Linked DNA regions of Homo sapiens: regions 1, 2, 3, 4, 5 and 6 are each linked to region 7. Evidence: promoter capture Hi-C in 16 types of primary human blood cells and fetal thymus (Javierre and others, 2016). All regions are on one chromosome and are shown on one strand. Each heading gives the region's core, a stretch centred on a gene start or on the middle of the fragment in contact. The rest is flanking DNA. Distances are from core to core; before and after follow the strand shown.

Region 1 (2,791 bases), core at 115-2,614, 1.5 Mb after region 7:
GTTTTTTTTTTTAGTAAACATCAGCTTTCCTCAGGTGTTCTTCTGCTTTATTATTCCCGTGTAGCCACAGCAACAGAACTGGCCCCATGTCTCTCAATCAGGGAGGTCCCCAGCCAGCTTTGGAAAGACACCCATCAAAAAGAGTGAGCAAACCTAAAGAAGGGTTCAATAGGGAAGGTACCAGCGGCCGGCTGCAGAGGGGCTCCATTCCCCTGACCCTCAGTCACTTCCCAGAAACCACACAGAGGAGCCCGGGTGTGCCAGAAACAGCCTTTCATAATACAAGATGGACAGGAAAGAGGCCAAGGGCAGGCAGTTCCCAATCTCCACAAGGGCAAGAAGGTAGAGTCCATACTTCTTTCTTGTCTTTTTCTTTTTTTGAAACAGGGTCTGGCTCCGTCATCCAGGCTGGAGCACAGTGGCACTATCTCGGCTCACTGCAACCTCCACCTCCTGGGCTCAAGCCATCTTCCCACCTCAACCCCCTGAGTAGCTGAGGCTACAGATGCACACCACCATGCCCAGCTAATTTTTGTATTTTTTGTAGAGATGGGATTTCTCCATGCTGCCCAAGCTGGTTTCGAACTCCTGAGCTCAAGCAGTCAGCCCACCTCAGCCTCCCAAAGTGCTGGGATTACAGGCATGAGCCACTGTACCAGGCTGAGTCCACACTTCTAAGCTTGCTGTTGCTCTCAGACTTGCAGAACAACCTATTAAACAGAAGTAGGTAAAAGTTGAGAAAGGGAAGTGGCCACCACAGAACCAGTTCTGCTGAGAACGAGGACTCGAGTCAGGCTATGCTACCCTCCTTCCATGGCCATGGGAAAAAGGGGTGTGTGCTGTTGGTGTGAGAGATCTGGATCTTAACAGATCAGACTTAAACTAATTTGCCCATGATGACCGTGTGGATTTGGAGGGACCTGGGAATCTCACAGACCTATGGGATGTCCCAGTGATATGTCCTGGGCTTCATACCAGCCCTGCCCTGCCTGACAAGTTGGATGAAAACTGATAAAGGACTTGTCATAGCTTCAGATGGCAAAACCAGGCCAGGCCAGAATGAAAAAGGAGAAGGAATTTAACATGGGCAAATGCCAAGCTCTGCATTTAACTAACCAAGGCTGCTTGGCGTGAACAAAACTGAGACAGAGCAATGCATGGAGAAAAGGGTTGGGCATTTGTGGGCTACAAGCTTGGCATGACATGGATGCAAATGTCAATGGGTGCACCCCCAGATGCCTGTGACTCCCTCTGGTGGTTTCTGTGCACAACTTCCCCCAAAATAGGCCCTACGACTCCAGCAGAAACCTACCCTGGGGCTCCTAGAGCTTCCTAGCCTGCCTGCCAGAGAGCAGAAGTGCCTGGAGGCTACATCTTCACCCCTGGGTAGTCCTTACTCTGAGGTGGGACTGCATCCAGGGCTCCCCTTTAGGGTCTGACTTGGACTGAAATCACACCCTGCCTTGCCTTCTGCCCCTCCCTTAACTTGCTCTCCCCTCCCTAATAACTCCAGCATCCTCATCTCAGCAGAAGCTTCTGGGGAACCCAGCCCAAGATGAGTGGTGAGGGCTAGGGTAGCCCTCCTCAATGCACTCTGGGAACTACATTTTCAGAAGCCCCAGCCAGAGGGCCAAGTCCCAGGCAGGGTGCAAAGCTGTGGGGCGAGGAACCTGGAAAGAGGCTCTGAACAAGGGACTTTTAAGGAAGTGGGATGTGGGCTGTGATCACAGCCAAGCTGGCAGGGTAAGAGGTGGCCCCTGAATGTGGCTATGAGAGGGGTGCCCAACACTACCAGCCTGTGTGCTGAGCACTAACTCAGTGCCAGGCACTACTTGGGTTATTCTATTTAATCTCCACACCAAGCATGTGAAGGAGGCACCATTGTCATCCCCATCTTACAGATGAGGAAGATGATCAAGGCTTGTAACTTGCCCAAGATCACATGGCTATAGGTGTGGATCCTATATATCCAGATTCAAACTCCAGCTTTAGCCCACTAAGCTACGGTGGCCAACCCCAGCCCAAAGTGTTGGGACCTGCGTGTAGAAGACCCCTTCAGCCCTTGTAAAGTTAGGATCTAGCATGTCTAAGGGGACAGAGACCCAATCCAGGTGACACAGGAGGTAAGATCACAGTGGAACAGGCCATCCCTGCTTTTCCACCACCACCAGCACTGTGACCTCAGACCAGCTCTACTCTATGAGTTTCTTGTGACAGTGATGGCAGCCTGGGGCCAGACAAGGGATGCGTGTCTTGTGTCCTGGACACAAGACAGGCAGGCCCAGAGGGGACAAGCTATATGAAGAGAGGCTTCAGCTGTCGGGGGTCCTGAATGCCATGGAAGGAGAGCAGGTGGGCAGAAGCAGGGAGCCCCTGGAGCAGACAGAGGGGGGATTCCTGCTGAGGCAAGGGGCTCTAGGACTCCAGGGTTTATGCTCCAAAGAACAGAATTTACCAGGACAAAATAAACAAGACCAGTCAGGACCGATGCCCCATCCCTGCTGGGGTCTGGCAAAGCTCTCACCTCCAAATTTGTATCTGTTTTGAATTCAAAGCCAAACAAACACATCAACAGTGAACTCCAACACCTCCCAGAGCAGGGCCTGAAAGGGACCCAGAAAGTCTGGCCAGAAATCTAGAGTCCAAGGGGAGGAGATCTGTAAACTAAACCGCTGGCCATGCTCTGGGGCCCTAAACCACTGCAGGCATCAGGGCTGTTCCAGGAGAGGGCACAGCAAAGGGGGTTGGGAGGGGTCTCCAGTTCCAATCAGAAATGAGGCTGCAGTCACTT
Region 2 (2,903 bases), core at 337-2,836, 1.4 Mb before region 7:
CCTGAAATATATCAAAGTAGTTATATTTTGCATTATGAAGGGCCTGATGGACAACCTGGGACTATTGAACCAATTGTAACTTCTCTACCTATAAATTTATAGGGAAGAGATTTATTACAACAATGGGGAGCACAAGTTCTAATTCCAGAGCAATTATATGGCCCTCAAAGTCAACATATGATGCATGAAATGGGGTATGTCCTTGGTATGGGACTAGAAAAAAATTTGCAAGTTTTGAAGGAACCGCTTCACACAGAAAGACAAAGTTCCTGCCAAGGTTTAGGATATCATTTTTGATGGTGGCCATTGTTAAGCCTCCAGAACCTATACCTTTAAAATGGTTAACAGATAAGCCAATTTGGATAGAATAATGGCCCCCGAGTAAAGATAAACTGGAGGCTTTAGAGGACTTAGTTACTGAACAATTAGAAAAAGGACATGTAGCTCCAACATTTTCCCTTGGAATTCTCCAGTTTTCATAATTAAGAAAAAATCAGGTAAATGGAGAATGTTAACTGTCTTAAGAGCCATTAATTCAGTTATACAACCTATGGGGACATTACAGCCAGGACTGCCTTCTCCTGCTATGATTCCGAAAAATTGGCCTTTAACAGTCATAGACTTAAAAGACTGTTTCTTTGCTATCCCCTTAGCTGAGCAAGACTGTGAACGGTTTGCATTTGCAAATCCTGCGGTGAACAACCTGCAGCCTGCTAAGCATTTTCACTGGAAAGTGTTGCCACAAGGCATGTTAAACAGTCCAACAATTTGCCAGACTTATGTGGGGCAAGCAATTGAATCTACTGGTAAAACATTTTCACAGTGTTACGTTATTCATTATATGGACAATATACTTTGTGCTGCCCCCACTCAAGAAATATTATTCCAAGGTTATGATCACCTGCAAAACTGGGTTTCTTGCACTGGTTTAATTATAGCTCAGGACAAAATTCAGACTACTACTCCCTACTCCTACTTGGGTACCTTAGTAAATGACACTACCATTGTGCCACAGAAAGTAACCATACATAGGGATCAACTGATAACATTAAATGACTTTCAAAAATTACTAGGGGACAGTAATTGCATGCGACGTGCTCTAGGCATTCCTACGTGTGCCATGAGTAATCTATTTTCTATCCTTAGAGGAGATTCTAGTCTCACTAGCCCTTGACAATTAACAAAGGAGGCTGAGGCAGAGTTACAGCGAATTGAAAAGCACGTCCATAAAGCCCAAATAAATAGAATAGACCCAGAGAAGACTCTAGATTTGCTAATTTTTCCAACTCAGCATTCACCTACCCGTATTATTGTCCAGGAGCAGGACTTAGTAGAATAGCTTTTTCTTCCACATACTAATTCACAGACTCTAACTCCTTATTTGGATCAAATCGCTACTATGATAGGAAATGGGAGAACTTGGATTGTTAAATTACATGGATATGATCCTGGAAAAATTATTGTCCCACTCACGAAGACACAAATACAGCAAGCTTTTATAAAATAGTCTTACTTGGCAAATCCATTTAGCTGACTTTGTGGGTATTCTCAATAATCATTTTCCTAAAATGAAACTGTTTCAATTTTTGAAATTAACTAATTGGATTCTGCCTAAAATAACTAAATTTAAACCAATTGACGGTGCTGAGAATGTTTTTACGGAAGGGTCTAGTAATGGTAAAGCTTCTTATTCTGGCTTGAAAGGTAAAGTTTTCCAGATGCCCTATACTTTAGCTCAAAAAGCAGAGCTTGTAGCTGTAATTGAGGTATTGACTACTTTTAATATGCCTATTAATGTGATTTCTGATTCTTCATACATGGTTCATTCCACACAGTTAATTGAAAATGCTCAGTTGCTATTTCATACAGATGAGCAACTGATGACTTTATTTACCCAATTACAAATAGCAGTTAGGAGTAGAATGCACCCTTTTTACATCACTCACATTAGGGCTCATACACCTCTTCCAGGACCTTTGACTGCAGGGAATCAAATGGCTGATCACCTAGTTGCTACCGCAATATCTAATGCCAGGCACTTTCACAATTTAACCCATGTTAATGCCGTTGGTCTCAAACACAGATACAGCATTACCTGGAAAGAAGATAAAGCTATTATCCAGCGATGCCCAACTTGCCAAATGGTGCATTCGTCATCTTTTATAGGAGGAGTTACTCCTCGAGGATTGGAACCTAATTCTTTTTAGCAAATGGACATCACACATGTTCCCTCATTTGGGAGACTAGCTTATGTACATGTATGTGTGGACACCTTTTCTCACTTTGGGCTATATGCCAATCAGGAGAGTCTTCTGCCTGTGTTAAATGTCACCTTTGTAGTGTTTTGCAGTGATGGGCATTCCAGCTTCTATTAAAACAGATAATGCCTCAGGCTATACTAGCCAAGCTCTAGCTACATTTTTCTCTATGTGGAATATTAAGCACATTACTGGCATCCCATATAATTCTCAAGGACAAGCCATAGTAGAAATAATGAATCTCTCCCTGAAACAGCAGTTGAAAAAGCCAAAGAGGAGAAACAGGGACTACAGGACACCCCATATGCAGTTGAATCTAGCATTATTGACTTTAAATTTTTTGAGCCTGCCTAAAGGCCAGATGCTATCGGCAGCTGAACAGCATCTACAGAAACCAACTGCAAAGGCAGAAGCAGGACAACTGGTTTGGTGGAGAGATCCGATAACAAAAAGTTGGGAAATAGGTAAAATAATAACTTGGGGTAGAGGTTATGCTTGTGTTTCTCTAGGACAGAACCAGCAGCCACTTTGGATACCATCAAGACACCTGAAATCTTATCATGATCCAGATGCTGAGGAAGAGATTCTGGGAGGATCCCCAGGACCCCCCCGGTTGCAGCCATGTCAAGACTGATGCGAGGAGGA
Region 3 (2,920 bases), core at 229-2,728, 1.9 Mb before region 7:
GGAGGCGGTGGAGCGCAGAGCGGGCGAGCGCGGTGAGTACCTGGCCCGGCCTCGCCCGCCGGTCCGCGACTCCCGCCGGCTCCGGCCCGGGCGGTGCGGGCGCCGGGGCTGCGGGCTCCTGTGTGGTCGGGTGGGGTCGCCTAGCGGACCGGTCCTGCGGGGGGCCCTGTCTCTCAGGGATGAGCCTGCCGGAGTCGGCACCGGTTTTAGGGAAAGCGCGGCCAGAGACGATTGGTTCGCTTGTCAGTGTTGGGTTTTGTTTTGTTTCGTTTTGTTTTTACCTATTCATCACCATCTCTGCTCCTCTCAGTGGATAAACTTTTTAATCAGTGGTGACCTCGTCATCGCGTTAAAATAGTTCTGCCCTCAGCCCCTCTTTATCTGTAGATGGCAGAGCGAGCGCCGGTAAAGATGCTCTGTCGTGGAGGGCTCAGTGGGGCGGAGGAGATGGGGAGCCTCTGGCGTTGTCGGAGAATGCACCTTAAAAATGACTCTACCCTTGAGCAACGCAGGAAGCACGACAGTGATACTTCTGTTTGTGATGATGGTATTGGCGGTATGATAGTTTGATTATACATCTGAAGCTTCTCTTCCTGAGTCCTTGGCTTGTTAAACTTGGAGGTATTTTCTAGCGTGCTTTTGAGATAGATATGGGATGTCGTGACGTTTCACCGTCATTCAAGGCTCGCGGGAGCAGGGCCTTCATGTCTGGTAATTAATGTTGTTTTTTGAATGTTGTATTAAAATAGTAGCTTCGATCTTGGAAGTAAGAAGCCAAGTATTTTAGGACTGAGTGTTAGCGTTCATTTTGTATTATTGTTCTTGTACCATTTGTTTAAAGTTGTCATGTAACTAAAAGAATGAAAAAAGATGGATTTCCAGTATTTGTGGCTCAGAGGATTTTGGCCTAAATAAACACAGTTCCAACCAGTTTAGAAGCTGCATTTTTCTCTTTGTTTTTGTCGAGGCATAAAATACATATGAAATCAATAAGAGCACGAATCTTAATTGTACAGCTCAATGAATTTTTACATACTTATTACCCTGTGGAACCACCAGATATATCAAATTATAACCATAGAACATTTCCATCATCCTATTTTCCTGTGCTTCTTCCAAGTCAGTTATATCCTTGTTTTCCCATCTGTATTCTAACTTCTCTTATCTGCTTTTAGTTTTCTCTGTTTTGAGCTTCATGTTAATGGAATCACGTAGTATTCTCAGCATATTGTTTGTGGGACACACCCATGCTATTTCATGGTATTGTATTATTACTGTGTAATAGTCTATTGAATAATATGTGACTACTCTTCAGTTGATGGACATTTATGTTCCCAATTTTTGTATATGATGTGTTTTGGATATTAAGAATACTGTGGGCCTGGCGTGGTGGCTCAGGCCTTTTATCCCAGCGCTTGGGGAGGCCGAGGCAGGTGGATCACTTGGTCAGGAGTTCGAGACCAGCCTGGCAAACATGGTGAAACCGCATCTCTACTAAAAATACAAAAATTAGCCAGGCGTGGTGGCGGGCGCCTGTAAGCCCAGCTACTTGGGAGGCTGAGGCGGGAGGTGGAGGTTGCAGTGAGCCGAGATCGTGCCACTGCACTCCAGCCTGGACGACAGAGCCTGACTCGGTCTCAAAAAGAAAAGAAAAAAAAAAGAGTACTGTGGACATTCTTGTAAATTAAATGTCTTGGTGAGCATCTGTATGCATTTCTGTCAGCTATAGAATGACTGAGTCATGGCATAAGCAGAAAATTACCAACATGGAGTCATTACCAACCATACCATTACCAACCAAAGGCAGAAAATTTAACCAACATGGAGTCATCTTTTTTTTAATGTAATAGAATTTGTTATTTTAACTAATATAACATTCAAGGTTGGTTTTAAAAAAGCATAACTATTATGAGTTCAAGACGTAAGTGATTCATTCATTACCATGTTATTATTTACCCTTTGAATTGCACATTTATGACTGTCTTCTGTCGGACTGTCATTGTTTGTTTAACTGTTAGACAAGTCTGTTAGAGCTGGTGAGGATCTGACTCTGAAGTTTAGCATAACATTTACTTAAGAACTGTATTACTCAAGTTAGTGGTTTTTTAGAGGAAATGAAATACCAAAAGGATATGACTGAAAGTGGATTGAAGAATCACGGGACTGCAAGTCAAAGAACTTACATTGTTATTGTCATGCTACACAAGCACTAGGTATAAGTGTAAAATTGAATTATAGGGCTAGTTACAAATGTGAATTCACAGCAGGAGTACAGTGATTTTCATATGGACTGAGATACTACTAGCACATTTATAATGTGAACACACAACAAAAATCACTAAACATTTGTGGGAAATCGGTAGCATCTAAGAGAAGCTTCAGACCAAACAAATACAGAACTAGGCACTGAAGCAGTGGAGCTAATGTAAGACAAAAGAAAGCTTTAAAGTAAGTATTAGTATCTTCAAATTTGTTAAGGTATTATGCCTACTGAACACATACAGGCTGCCATGAAAAAAAGCAATTGATTCTTGAATATTTAAACATGGAAAGTAGGAAAGGGCCAGGTGTGGTGGCTCATGCCTGTAATTCCAACACTTTGGAAGGCCGAGGCAGGAGGATCTCTGGATTCCAGGAGTTTGAGAGCAGCCTAGGCAACATAATGAGACCCTGTCTCTACAAATAATTTTTTTTTTTTTTGAGACGGAGTCTGGCTCTGTTGCCCAGGCTGGAGTGCAGTGGCGCCATCTCGGCTTACTGCGAGCTCCACCTCCCAGGTTCACGCCATTCTCCTGCCTCAGCCTCCCGAGTAGCTGGGACTACAGGCGCCCGCCACCATGCCCGGCTAATTTTTGTATTTTTAGTAGAGACGGGTTTCACCATGTTAGCCAGGATAGTCTTGATCTCCTGACCTCATGAT
Region 4 (2,726 bases), core at 21-2,520, 1.4 Mb before region 7:
CAAGGCATGACCCATGGCATATTAAAAGCAAGTGGACTGGCTGCTCTTCCCAACCAGACCTTCTCTTCAGACCACAGAGAAAAAAAAATTTCTTTCTGTTTAAGGCTAATCTCTTCCTGTGCATTCTAGATCAAATCCCTTCTTCTATCTTCAGAGATGCAAGCCCACCAATTATCTTTTCTCTCCCTTATTTTTTTATCCGTCTTCCATTCAGTTGTCTGGATTGTCTAATCCTCCTTCTCTACCTCAACAATATTCAAACCATTTCAGATCCTGTCAATTCTGCCTCCTAAATTTCCCTCCAATGTGTTACCTCTTTTCCATTTCCACTGCCAGTCTTAGTAAGACCCTTATTTTTTTTCTTACCTAGGCTACAATAACTCCTTACCAATTCTTTGTAGTACAATTTTTGTCATCTTCCAGTCCCTAGGTTAGACAACCAGAGTTATTAATTTTTTAAGGTCCTCAAGATAAAATGGCAGGCGGGACTCCATTCTGAGAAGGGAAAGGATATGTTGGTGGACTACTAACTTTGTGGTAGGTAAAAAAAATGACAGGAGTAGACCAAATGAAAAGAATCATTGTGACAAGGGAAAGGAGAAAAGGAAAGGAAATTAGTGCTCCTGTTAAAGCAAGACAAAGGTGGGACTGAAACACTGAATAATCAACAGTCTTCCCAGGTATCAGTGGCACTAAGGAGTCACTCCAAGGCTGTGCTCCTGCTTACAGTTGGGAGAGCAGACTTGATATTCTAAAGGCCAACCAAAGAGGAAGGTCACAAGTTCAATTGTTTCCTGTTTCTATCAGACAAATGTCGACCTCCTCAGAACTACATACATGCCATCATGTGGCCTTCCACTTCTTTCTAGAGCCCATCTCTGCTGTATCTAACAATTTACTTTGAAGTGGAAAAGCAGGAAGAGGCACACTAGATTACCTGGAGTCATTCAACACATTACACTTGAGTCTAGCACAGTCCTTTCTATAGTAAGCCCTAACTTATTGAGTTCTCCCATCCATTTTGGAGCTTTCAGTCTCAGGACAATAGCCTCTTTCTGAAGCATGAGGATGAGTTAGAATTCTCCTCCTCTGAGATCTCATAGCATCTTTCACATCCCTCTACTATAGCTATTAAGTCTCTCCCAAGTTGGCTGGAAGATTCTGAAGGATAGGGGCTACACTCAACTCATCTTTGTTGTTTGAAACAGAGTCTCACTCTGTTGCCCAGGCTGGAGTGCAGTGGCATGATCTCAGCTCACTACAACCTCCACCTCCCGGGTTCAAGAGATTCTCCTGCCTCAGCCTCCCGAGTAGCTGGGATTACAACAGGCATCAACATGACCAGCTAATTTTTGTATTTTTAGTAGAGATGAGGTTTCACTATGTTGGCCAGGCTGGTCTCAACTCCTGACCTCAGGTGATCCTCCCCACTCAGTCTCCCAAAGTACTGGGATTACAGGTGTGAGCCACCATGTCTGGCCTCAACTCATCTTTAAATCCCCAGCAACTACCACAATTGACTTGGAATCTGAAAGATAAATATAAATTCACATTCAATTTAAATGAATAATAATACAACTAAAAGAAAACATAAAGATGGTCAAGCCCAAGACCCTCAGTTTACAGAGAAAAAAACCACAGTTCATAAGGGCGAAGTGACTTACCCAATGTCACAGAGGAAAAGCAGGGTTAACTAAGACTCCCGCCTTTCAGCAGACCTAAGGACAATGTGTGGTACATAGAAAACACACAATGCTTGGAATGAAGTCCTTCCTTTAAATTAAAAAAGTTGTTGTGTAACACACACCAGAATCTCAAAATTTACTAAACTGGCAATCCCCAGTTGCAGCGGCAGTGAATACTTAATCATTAGGGAGCAGGCAGAAGCGAAGGAAGGAAAATGTATTGATTCTACTAAGGTTAATCTCCCTTGAAGTCCTCAATTACTTTTCAGGGCACAGAGAAGCCATGCTCTCAGTACCTCAAGTCAGCTTACTGTCCTCTAAACAGATTTTTTCTAAGAGCTCATGTGTGTGAGGGCTGTATTTGCCAAGCAAAAAGATGGCCTTTGCTGGTAGTGTTAAAAAACATTTTTTTTCCCTTAAAACGCAGTCTGATATTTTATTCAAACAACTTCTGATGTGATGACCTGTTTAGTTAATGGAGAAAGAACAGCCTGAAGGAAGAAAACACGGGGTTTATTTCTGGCCTTCTGCTCTCTGAAACAAAGGACAAGGCACTTTCCTTCGGCTCTCTCAGAGTTAGCCGAGTTAGAGCTCTCCACCATAAAACGCCAGGACAGGGCAAAGAGGGGGCCGACCATCTCAAACACCATGGGATTCTAAGTGGGGGCTGACCATCTCAAATACCCTGGGAGTCTAAGGGTTAATTTTGAGGTAACCTCCTACAGATGGTTTTATGGGGACAACTGAAAACTCTCTTTAAAAAAGTACGACTTGGTAATTTAAAATTTACTGGAACAGTTAAATATGTAGACATGCTAGTGAAAGAGAACAAATCAACCTGAGTATAAAGGATGAATAACTCATTTTACCTACCCTAGAGACACTTATAGTGTATAGAGAGATATTTCACAATAAACCTTTGGATGTACAAAGATCAACAGAATAAAAAAGGAGTGAAACTCTCCTTTCACTAGGTCTGGAAGAGAGAAGGAAGCTTAGTTCTTAAAAAACACCACAGAGAGTTCTGATGCATAGCCTAGT
Region 5 (3,161 bases), core at 299-2,798, 1.6 Mb after region 7:
GACAATGACAGCCGCTCGGCCACAAAGACCAGATCAAGGAAGCTGCCTTCCAGTCCAAGTTGAGTGTTTTCGCTGGTCTCAGGTTGAGAGGGAGGTGAATAGATATAACATACAGGCTGATAAATAAAAGGCCACCATTTTTAGGCTTAAATACTGCTAATCTAAAGGAGGTTGAGCATCACTAAACCAAAAACCCAGAAATCCAAAATGCTCTAAAATCCAAAACTTCTTGAGCACACATGATGCTCATTGGAGCATTTCAGATTTTGGATTTTCAGATTAGGGATGTTCAGCCAGGATAATGCAAATATTCCAAAATCTGAAATATGAAACACTCTGGCCCCGAGCATTTCAGATAAGGGATACCCAACCTGTACTTGCCCCAGAGGATAACTAGCCACAAATAGGCAGAAAGCCAACTGAGATTTTAAGGGGCATGTGTTACCAAAGAACCATGAGTCTGGCTGGTACAAGTCTGCATTTTTGACTCCTTAAATCAACCGACCCCTACCCACCAAACCTGCACCTGCAAAAAGTGGGCTGCAAAAGCTATGCAGCCCAGGCCCAGTGTGGTGGCATGTGCCTGTAGTCCCTGCTGCTCTGAAGGCTGAAGTGGGAGGATTGCCTGAGCCCCAGGCACTCGAGTCCAGCCTGGGCAACACAGCAAGACCTTCTCTCTAAAAAAAAATGTTTAAGCTGTATAGCCCTAAGAGGGATACACCGTTTGATGCCCTTTAGTTGTGCCATGGAAGGCAGTGGACAAAGAGGGGACCACCAAGGTCCAAAGATGTCTATCCCAGGGAATACTCCTGGAGAGAGGCGCTGTCATCCAAGGACTCTGCTCCACTCCCTGGGAGCCTTCACAATTTCTGCCCACCAGGATTTGGTGGGTGTGTTTTTCCCTCTTCTGGATGAGGTTTCCCACCATGTTTATCTTATTTTTACTGGCTGTTGCATATTGGGTGTAAGGAGGCAGGCAATGTATGTAAGGGTTCCGGGGCAACACACCATAAAGAACTGCATCCAGAAGCCTGGTGTGGTGGCTCACACCTGTAAACCCAGCACTTCGGGAGGCCAAGATGGGAGGATTGCTTGAGCCCGGGAGTTCGAGACCAGCCTGGGCAACATAGTGAGAACTTGTCTAAAAAAACAAAAATAAAACAAAAACCACATCAGATCTGATGGTGCAGGCTGTCCCTCCACAGGTCCCAGGCTTGGAGCTGGACATAGGCACTGGATGCAACTTTAGGGTTGTCTCCCCTGGGGAGGGGACACATGGAAATTTGACTGGCCAATGGGACAGGCTGGGGCTGAGATTGCTAATTGCCCCCGATCACACTCATCTCCTATGTTTAAAGAATTCTTGTTTTTTATCTGGAGATACGGAAATCCAGAAAAAAAATACTGTATTTCCTCACTTCCTAGAAGCTATATTTGGCCAAGTAACTGACCAGCAGCATTGAAGTAGGGAGAGGTGACACTTTTAACCAGAGGGGCGAGCCCTCCTCTTCCGCCTTTTCCGTTTCCACTGGCTAGGCAGTGGAGGTGATGGTGAAACATCTCACATCACAATACCTAGGGATAGAGAAGCAACAAGATGGGGAAAAAAAAACCTGGGCTCCCAGGCTGCTTACCTGCAGGCAGGTGAGGGAGAAAGAAACTTCTATCTTGCTTAAGCCAATCTTATTTGAAGTCTCTCTTCCAGCAGTTCAACATATATTCCACAAAGATATTACTCACACTCTACCTCCTCTACGCTCATGTGGGTCTTAGAGGAGGGGTGTATGCTAGGCCTCAGCCAATCACTGTATCAGTTTCCTGGCCAGAGATTGTTCAGGATAAGTGTGTACCCCACTTAGATCCAATGATAAATACTTTATCTGGGAATCTGGAGAAAGAAACTCATTCTATTCCCCAAGGGAATGTGGCGATGAAGCCACCATCTTACATGAAGCCGGATACTGGAGCCGCCCAGAGAAGGACAAAGTGAGGATGTGCAGAAGCAAGTTCCCGAGAACATCCCGGGAGCCTTGACCTCAGTGAGGACTAAGGCTAGTCTCATCCCTTGACATCTCAATTAAGGAAGACAATACATTTCCTTTTTTAAAAACCAATTTGCATTATATTTCCATCCTTTGCTACCAAAAGTGTCCTTAGTGATACGCTGGTCACCGTGGGAGGGTTACAGAGGCAACATGGAAGGGGGATGTCTGCTTTGGTCTCAGACCACCTGCAACTTGTTTGGGGGAAAAAATGGGTTTGTTATAAGGATGCATGAGGATTTGAACCAGAATTGAAAAGTCCTCAGGAATAGGCGAGACAACTTCAGAAATAGCCATTGCTCCCTCTCTTCATGGAGCTTCCTAGACAGGTTTCCTCCTGACTGTGCTCTGCCAGCTCTTTCCACCAACTGGCGCCCTCTCCTGATGCTGAATTTCTGCTGCTTTGAAACTGAGTTGCCACCACGCCAGCTCCTCCTAGTGGCACCTCTTCACATATCCTTCATGCTTCTTCCCTTGCAGCTGGCTGTCTCGCTCCTGCCCTGTTTCTCAACTTCCAATTTAAAAAAGAGAAATTGGATAGACATAGGTCATCTTTAATGCCAGAGGAAAACTCACAAATCCTGACCAGCCTGATTCAGAGCCTGAGTCAGGTGTTTGCTTGCTCTTGTCCAACTGTTACATGATCTAAAATAGGGCCACCTGCTGGCTGTCTCCTCCTCTAGGGCTGCGGGCATGGCAGGTACCACCACTGATGTGTCTTGTATGCCTACACAGAATTATTGTATTAGGCAATACTCTTCTGACTTCAAGAGGCAGAAACCCAACTCAAATTGGCTTAAGCACCAAAGGGACTTTTCACTGTTTCTTGTAAGTCAACAGTCCAGGGTAACCGGGCTTGGCCAGAGCCCCTAGCTTAAATGATGTCATCAGAACTGGCACCTCTCTCTTTTAGCCAGGCTCTCCCTACATAGTGGGTCTTGGGAACTCCTGGATTATGTTTATGTCCTCACAGCTCTAAGTCCATGGACAAGAGTTTAAGGAACAAGGACAGTGCCAAGTTAACTGTACTAGCCATTACTGTTTTGTTTTGTTTTGTTTTGTTTTGTTTTTGAGACTGAGGCTCGCTCTATTGCCCAGGCTGGAGTGCAGTGGCGCAAT
Region 6 (2,887 bases), core at 147-2,646, 1.6 Mb before region 7:
CGGGGCCGAGAGCTAAGGCTACGGGAACCGGGCGTGGGAGGAGGGCGGAGCCAACTCCCCACAAGGAAGTCTTGTGCAACTCTCAGGCGCCTGCAGCCACGTGAGCGCGCGGCTTTCATTTTACTCAGGTATTATTACTATTATTACTTCTTTTGAGACAAGGTCTCATTTCCGTCGCCCGGCTGGAATGCAGTGGCACAATCACTGTCACTGCAGCCTCGACCTCAGAGCAAGCGACCCTCCCGCCTCAGCCTCCCGAGTAGCTGGGACAACAGGCGCGCGCCACCACACGTGGCTAATTTTTTTTTCTTTACTTTTCAGTAGAGACAGTCTATGTTGCCCAGGCTTGTCGGGAACTCCTGGGCTCAAGAGATCCTCCCGGCTGGGCCTCCCACTGCGCCAGGCCTGTTCTCACTTTCAGAGCCCTCCGGCAGTCGCCAGCTCCCCGCCAGGGGGCCGGACTAACGCACCCGGCCGTCCGTGCCTTCCCCGCGCTTTCCTGACTCCAAAATCTCAGCCCGCGGTGCTCACCGCGTGGGACCACTGTCTGGGCGTGCGGCTCTCGACCTCCGACGCTGCGTCTCCCGATCCCAGTGGGTCCAGTTCTTGCCGGTCCCACGTACGGGCCCCTCGACCTCGAATCCCGTCACCCAAATCTCAGCGCCACGGCCCCTCATTATGTGCAGTCCTCGCTCGGTCCCAGGTTTGCGGCGCTTAAACTCAGATCGCTCTTCCCTGATCCCAAATCCCAGCCCCAGCCCAACGATCCCCACCCCAATAGGCCCAGTCCCCAGGTAGTCCGGGTACGGGGCCCTGGACTTCGGATAGTCTCCCTAATCTCAAATCCCACCCCCCGTCCCCACCCCCAGGGGGACCCGGTCCCCGCTAGGTCCCGGGTGTGCGGCCTTCGACCTCGGAGACTTCGGCCGCCCCTCACCTCGGCCTCCGAGTCTCTACACTCCCGCTCTCATATCAGGCACCCCGGTGGTCCCTTGGAGCACCTAGAGGAGGGTGGGACGCGGGGAACTTGGCAGTTGTAGCAGAGGCAGTTGAGGCTTGTTGACCATCACCATGGAAACCCCCGCCTGCGAGCACGGGGCGGAGCCTACGAGGGGCGGGGTCAGGCGCGCTGCCGGCCCCAATCCTCAGCGCCTGCCCGTCGAGCGCACGCGGCTTTGCCGGAAGCCCTCCTGCTCCCGGCGAGCCAGGCCCCGACTAGGCCCTACTGCCCGGCTCAGCCCTTTGCCCTGGACACCAGGAAACAGAAGCCCAAGGAGCCCGCGTCCCCACCCCCTGCTACCTGCCGGCGTGACAGCGATTCGGTGGCCCCCCGAACCCCACCTTGAGGAAGACGCGGCGCAGTCCTGCTTCCACGACGGAGCCGGAAGGACGCAAGGACCGCGGCAGGGCGGAGTTTCTGCGTCCGGCGTCCGGGGGCGGGGCCGCGACGGCGCATTGTGACGCGCCAGAGCTGAGCCGCCGGTTGGCCGGCTGGGCGCGGAGCAGAGCCGACACGGCTGGCGGGGGAGGCGGTGGAGGCGGACAAGCGAGGACGTTTCTGGAGAGGAGAAGGGAGGGGAGGGGAGGGGATAGGGGGAGGGGGAGGAGGAGGAGGGAGTGGAGCGGCGGGAAAGATCCCTCTGACTGCCCCTGAGGCCCTGGAGGAAGGACACTGGTGAGCCCCGCAGGACACTGAAATGTGCGCCGAAAGGACGCCTGATGGAAGACTAGGATGGGAAAAGGAAATGAGAGCCGATGGCAGGGCGTGGTGGCGCAAGCCTGTGGTCCCAGTAATTTGGGAGGCTAAGGCGGGAGAATCGCTTGAGCCCGGGAGGTCGAGGCTGCAGTGATCCGTGACTGCTCCATTGCGTCCAGCCTGGGCGACAGAGCGAGGCGCTGTCTCAAAAAATAAAATAAGGAAAGTAGTACACTGAAGGCCGGGCGCGGTGGCTCACGCCTGTAATCCCACCACTTTGGGAGGCCGAGGCGGACGGATCAGGCGGTCGGGAAATCGAGACCATCCTGGCCAACATAGTGAAACCCCTACTAAAATACAAAAAAATTAGCCAGGCGTGGTGGCGCGCGCTTGTAGTCCCAGCCACTCGGGTGGCTGAGGCAGGGGAATCGCTTGAACCCGGGAGGCGGAGCTTGCGTGAGCCGAGATCGCGCCACTGCACTCCAGCCTAGCGACAGAGCGAGACTACGTCTCAAAGAAAAAAAAAAAAAAAAGGTACACTGAGTACTCCGGAGACCGCCTAAAGGGGTCTCAGAGCAGGGCGTTAGGAGGGATTTGTCAGGTTGAAGTTGCTCAGGTGATAAATTCCGTGGTGTGAGAAGCCCCCAAACCTCAGAATGTAACTCAGACCCAGGTCGAGGGCAAGATTTTCAGTCACAGAGCACCTGAACACACAGATTTGGTGGCTAATGGCTAAGCCAGGGACAGATTTTCTTTCTTTTCTTTTTTTTTTTGATGTATTGTAGGGCTAATAATTGTAACCATTTTATTTTGGTGGATCTTCTTCATGAAGAGATGATGTCAAGGCACTCATCACAGGTTAAGCTGAACATTGTTACTATTGTTATTATTTCCAGACTGAGTATCGCCCTGTCATTCAGGCGGGAGTGCAGTGGTACAATCACGGCTCACTGCAGCCTCGACCTCCTGGGCTCAAGCGATCCTCCTGCCTCAACCTCCTGAGTAGCACCACCACTCTCGGCTAAATTTTGTATTTTTTGTAGAGGCGAGGTTTCGCTGTGTTGCCCGGGCTGGTCGGGAACTCCTGGACTCAAGCCATCCGCCCACCTACGCCTCCCAGAGTGTTGGGATTACTGGATTGAGCCACGCATCTGGCTGAACGTTATTTTTTAAATCACCAGAGAAAGTAAA
Region 7 (2,779 bases), core at 130-2,629:
AGACAGATATGATAATCTGTGCTTCATGAGACTATGGTGAAGATGAATAACCAGAAGATAAGATGTAAAAGTACTTTGTAAACAATAAGGCATCTTATAAATTCATTCATTCAACAGCTATTTACTGAGTGTCTGTTCCCTGCTGAGCACTGTTTTCAGCACTGCAGACACAATAAAGAACTAAAGAGACAGATCATGAGAGGCATCGGGTGCCACTGCGAGGTCCTTGGCTTTGCTCTAATAAGTTGGGAAGCCTTTGAAGGTTTTGAACAAATGAATGACATGATCTAACTTAGGTTTAAGAGGATTACTCTGGGGCCGTGAATAGACTGTAGGGCAACCCGTCTGGAAGCCAATATAATAATCCAGAAGGTGGATGAAGGTGGCTTGGTGGTTATAGCAGTGGAAGTGTTGAAAGTGGCTTGATAATGAATATATTTTAACGATGAAGCCGACAGAATTTGTGGATAAATCACAGGTGAATTTTGGATGAAAAAAAGAAGAGACAACAGTGACATCAAGGTTTTTGGCTTGAGCAACTGGAAAGATGATGGGATCTTCACCCATCCCTGGGAAGAAGACTGTTGCAAGAACAGGTTAGGTAGATATCAGGAATTCATTTGGGGGGTATGTTAGGTTTGGGATGTCCATTACACATGCAAATGCAGCTCTTGAGTAATCAGTTCGATATACAAGTCTAAAGTTCAATAACATTTATGTCCCACAGTCAGACTGGAGTTACCAATGCGGGAGTCTTCAGCATGCAGCAATAGCATTGGAAGCCAAAAGGCGGAGGAGCTCCCCAGGGAGTGGGGGAACACGGAGGTCAGCTGGTCAGATGACTGAGCACGGCCAGGATGGCTGAGGAGGAGCCTGGAAGGAATAAGAACAAAGAGAGATCATTACTAATGAGCAACAAAAGGGGTGTGTTGAAATCAGACTTTGGAGCCACAAAGAACCATTCCAATTCTGGGTCGTCCGCTTACACACGGTGAACGGAGCACATTTCTTCTCTGAGCCTTGGTTCCTTTCCTGTAAATGGAGTATAACCACTCCCATCTTGCAGGAGCTTTTTGGTGATAATTAAGGTGACTTCGTGAAAAGTACCAGGGTCTCAAAAATCTCAAAATTTGTGGAAAGTATGCAGTTTCTAGGTTGGAGAGGCTAGAGTTTGGTTTCAAAAGCCTCGACCACACACAGGGGCGGTTACAGCTCTTGAGGTCCCGGGGGTCACAGGACGCCTTCCGAGTTGGGGGGAGGAGAAAACAAAACCACAGGAAGAAACGAACAACGCTTTCGGGTGGGCCCGGGACCATAGAGGGTCGCTCCGCCACTTTCCTAGAGCGACCGCGGCGGCGCCAGAGCGCGGCGAGGCCCTCACTTCCGGCGGCGCGGGAGGCGCCCAGCGAGCCAGAGTGGTGGCTGGTCCCGCGCGGTGAGTGGGATTGGGGCACTTGGGGCGCTCGGGGCCTGCGTCGGATACTCGGGTCCGCTCGGGAGCGCGCTGGCCGCAACGAGGGCGGCGCGGGCCCGGGCGATGGCGTGGCTTGCGTCTCCCGCCTCCGGGCAGGGCCTGGCCGCCGGGCGGGGGCGGGAGGGCCACGCGGGCCCAGGGTGGGGCCGCGGCCTGCGCGGCGGGCGGGCCGGGTCAATGAGGAGCGGCCGGCGGAGTGCTGGGAACGGGAGGCTTGGACTGGGGGCCCGGGCGAGGCGCGGCCCGCGGCGGGTGGAACTGGGCGGGTGAGCAGCAGCCCCGGCCCCTTCCGTCGCTCGGAGCGTTCGAGGACTAGATACGTGGAACAAATGCTTAGGCAGCACAGGGCTGCTCTGAGCGGTTTTCAGATTCAGACTCATTGCAACTTCTAACATCTTGATGGTGTTGCCACTTTATCATTACCCTCCCCATTTTACGAGGAAACTGAGGCACATTCCAGTTAGCTGGGTGTGCAAGAACAGCAGCTTCTGTCACTCAGGTTTAACTTCGTGCTTGCCCCTGCTGGGGAGCTATGCAAAGCACGGGTCGCCGCGCTGGACTGAGCAATGGAAGATGTGGCTGCCACTAAGAGTACAGGCTCTGGAGTCAAACTGCTAGGGTCTGGGAACCCGGCCAGTGCCTTCTAGCATTGTGCCCTCGTTTCCTTAACTTAAAACGGAAATAACTGCATAAAGGTGCCAGGAGAATTAAAGAGCTAGCACAGAATCAAGTTACACAGTGTCTGGCACATACTAGTATGATTGCCTCATCCGTAGGTGGATTTGACAGTCTGAGTTTCTGACTAGATCTGACTTCCATTGTATTAAATGCGTGTGCTTTTATGTATAATGACCATTATAGTTATTAAAAAAAAAAAAAAGCAACACCAACACCATGTACCTAACACAATGTCTCCTGTGTGGTAGATGTTCTGTAAATATTTGCTTAAGTTAAGGAGTGGGTAGTCCTAACTGTAATCTTGTGTTATATGCGGCTTACTCTTACGCTGACCATAATTACAGCTGATGTAATTATTAAATATCCAGATAAAGTCCTGGACCTAAAGTCTCAATTATACAATAAGATGAAAGGAAGGCAAGAAAAATTATGTTTTTGTTTTCATTTATTTGCTTTATATGTTTGTATGCAAAGAAACCCAGAATAATTGTTTCTATTTTAAATTCCACATTCTGACACAAGATAATGAAAAATAGTTCCAATAATTTTATTGCTTTTGAAGTTCTAGATTTTCCGACATTGCCACCTATGTGGGGTTTGTAGGGGTTTTTGTTGGTTTGTTTTGGC

Evidence for each region. The method cuts DNA at HindIII sites, captures the fragments that hold promoters and counts their contacts. A CHiCAGO score of 5 or more calls a contact.
Region 1: a contact is called between a fragment that was not itself captured here and the fragment with the promoter of ZNF22 in region 7, in 1 of 17 cell types (total B cells). The highest score is 5.2, in total B cells.
Region 2: a fragment that was not itself captured here is called in contact with the fragment with the promoter of ZNF22 in region 7 in 1 of 17 cell types (naive B cells); the score reaches 6.8 in naive B cells.
Region 3: a fragment that was not itself captured here is called in contact with the fragment with the promoter of ZNF22 in region 7 in 8 of 17 cell types (naive CD8 T cells, total CD8 T cells, activated CD4 T cells and 5 more); the score reaches 14.4 in naive CD8 T cells.
Region 4: a contact is called between a fragment that was not itself captured here and the fragment with the promoter of ZNF22 in region 7, in 7 of 17 cell types (naive CD8 T cells, activated CD4 T cells, total CD8 T cells and 4 more). The highest score is 13.0, in naive CD8 T cells.
Region 5: a contact is called between a fragment that was not itself captured here and the fragment with the promoter of ZNF22 in region 7, in 1 of 17 cell types (total B cells). The highest score is 5.2, in total B cells.
Region 6: a contact is called between the fragment with the promoter of HNRNPF here and the fragment with the promoter of ZNF22 in region 7, in 5 of 17 cell types (fetal thymus, M0 macrophages, naive CD8 T cells and 2 more). The highest score is 8.0, in fetal thymus.

What each region holds. Positions count from the first base shown.
Region 1 is chr10:46,543,962-46,546,752 of GRCh38, forward strand. GPRIN2 (G protein regulated inducer of neurite outgrowth 2) reads right to left here. Exons shown (of 3, transcript NM_001385282.1): 3 at 1-2,791. Among named protein-coding and RNA genes, the nearest start is that of GPRIN2, 11 kb to the right of the region's middle. The HindIII fragment of the contact is 341 bases long and covers 1,195-1,535 here.
Region 2 is chr10:43,587,528-43,590,430 of GRCh38, forward strand. No RefSeq gene overlaps it. Among named protein-coding and RNA genes, the nearest start is that of ZNF239, 14 kb to the left of the region's middle. The HindIII fragment of the contact is 190 bases long and covers 1,492-1,681 here.
Region 3 is chr10:43,138,536-43,141,455 of GRCh38, forward strand. CSGALNACT2 (chondroitin sulfate N-acetylgalactosaminyltransferase 2) reads left to right here. Exons shown (of 8, transcript NM_018590.5): 1 at 1-32. Among named protein-coding and RNA genes, the nearest start is that of CSGALNACT2, 1.6 kb to the left of the region's middle. RefSeq lists silencers at 1-266, 377-446. The HindIII fragment of the contact is 1,792 bases long and covers 583-2,374 here.
Region 4 is chr10:43,570,376-43,573,101 of GRCh38, forward strand. The region is part of intron 2 of ZNF239 (zinc finger protein 239); the gene reads right to left. Among named protein-coding and RNA genes, the nearest start is that of ZNF239, 2.9 kb to the right of the region's middle. The HindIII fragment of the contact is 2,814 bases long and covers 1-2,677 here.
Region 5 is chr10:46,563,317-46,566,477 of GRCh38, forward strand. No RefSeq gene overlaps it. Among named protein-coding and RNA genes, the nearest start is that of GPRIN2, 8.2 kb to the left of the region's middle. The HindIII fragment of the contact is 7,183 bases long and covers 1-3,161 here.
Region 6 is chr10:43,407,790-43,410,676 of GRCh38, forward strand. HNRNPF (heterogeneous nuclear ribonucleoprotein F) reads right to left here and starts at 1,397. Exons shown (of 4, transcript NM_001098204.2): 1 at 1,342-1,397. RefSeq lists enhancers at 107-156, 124-727, 167-506, 1,237-1,296 and silencers at 1,017-1,136, 1,587-1,816. The HindIII fragment of the contact is 6,154 bases long and covers 1-2,887 here.
Region 7 is chr10:44,999,544-45,002,322 of GRCh38, forward strand. ZNF22 (zinc finger protein 22) reads left to right here and starts at 1,380. Exons shown (of 2, transcript NM_006963.5): 1 at 1,380-1,435. It overlaps LOC124902530, which reads left to right. Exons shown (of 3, transcript XM_047426129.1): 3 at 1,237-2,779. The coding sequence ends at 1,866. ZNF22-AS1 (ZNF22 antisense RNA 1) reads right to left here and starts at 1,260. Exons shown (of 4, transcript NR_126421.2): 1 at 987-1,260; 2 at 743-873. RefSeq lists a silencer at 1,420-1,769 and an enhancer at 1,496-1,996. The HindIII fragment of the contact is 6,687 bases long and covers 1-2,779 here.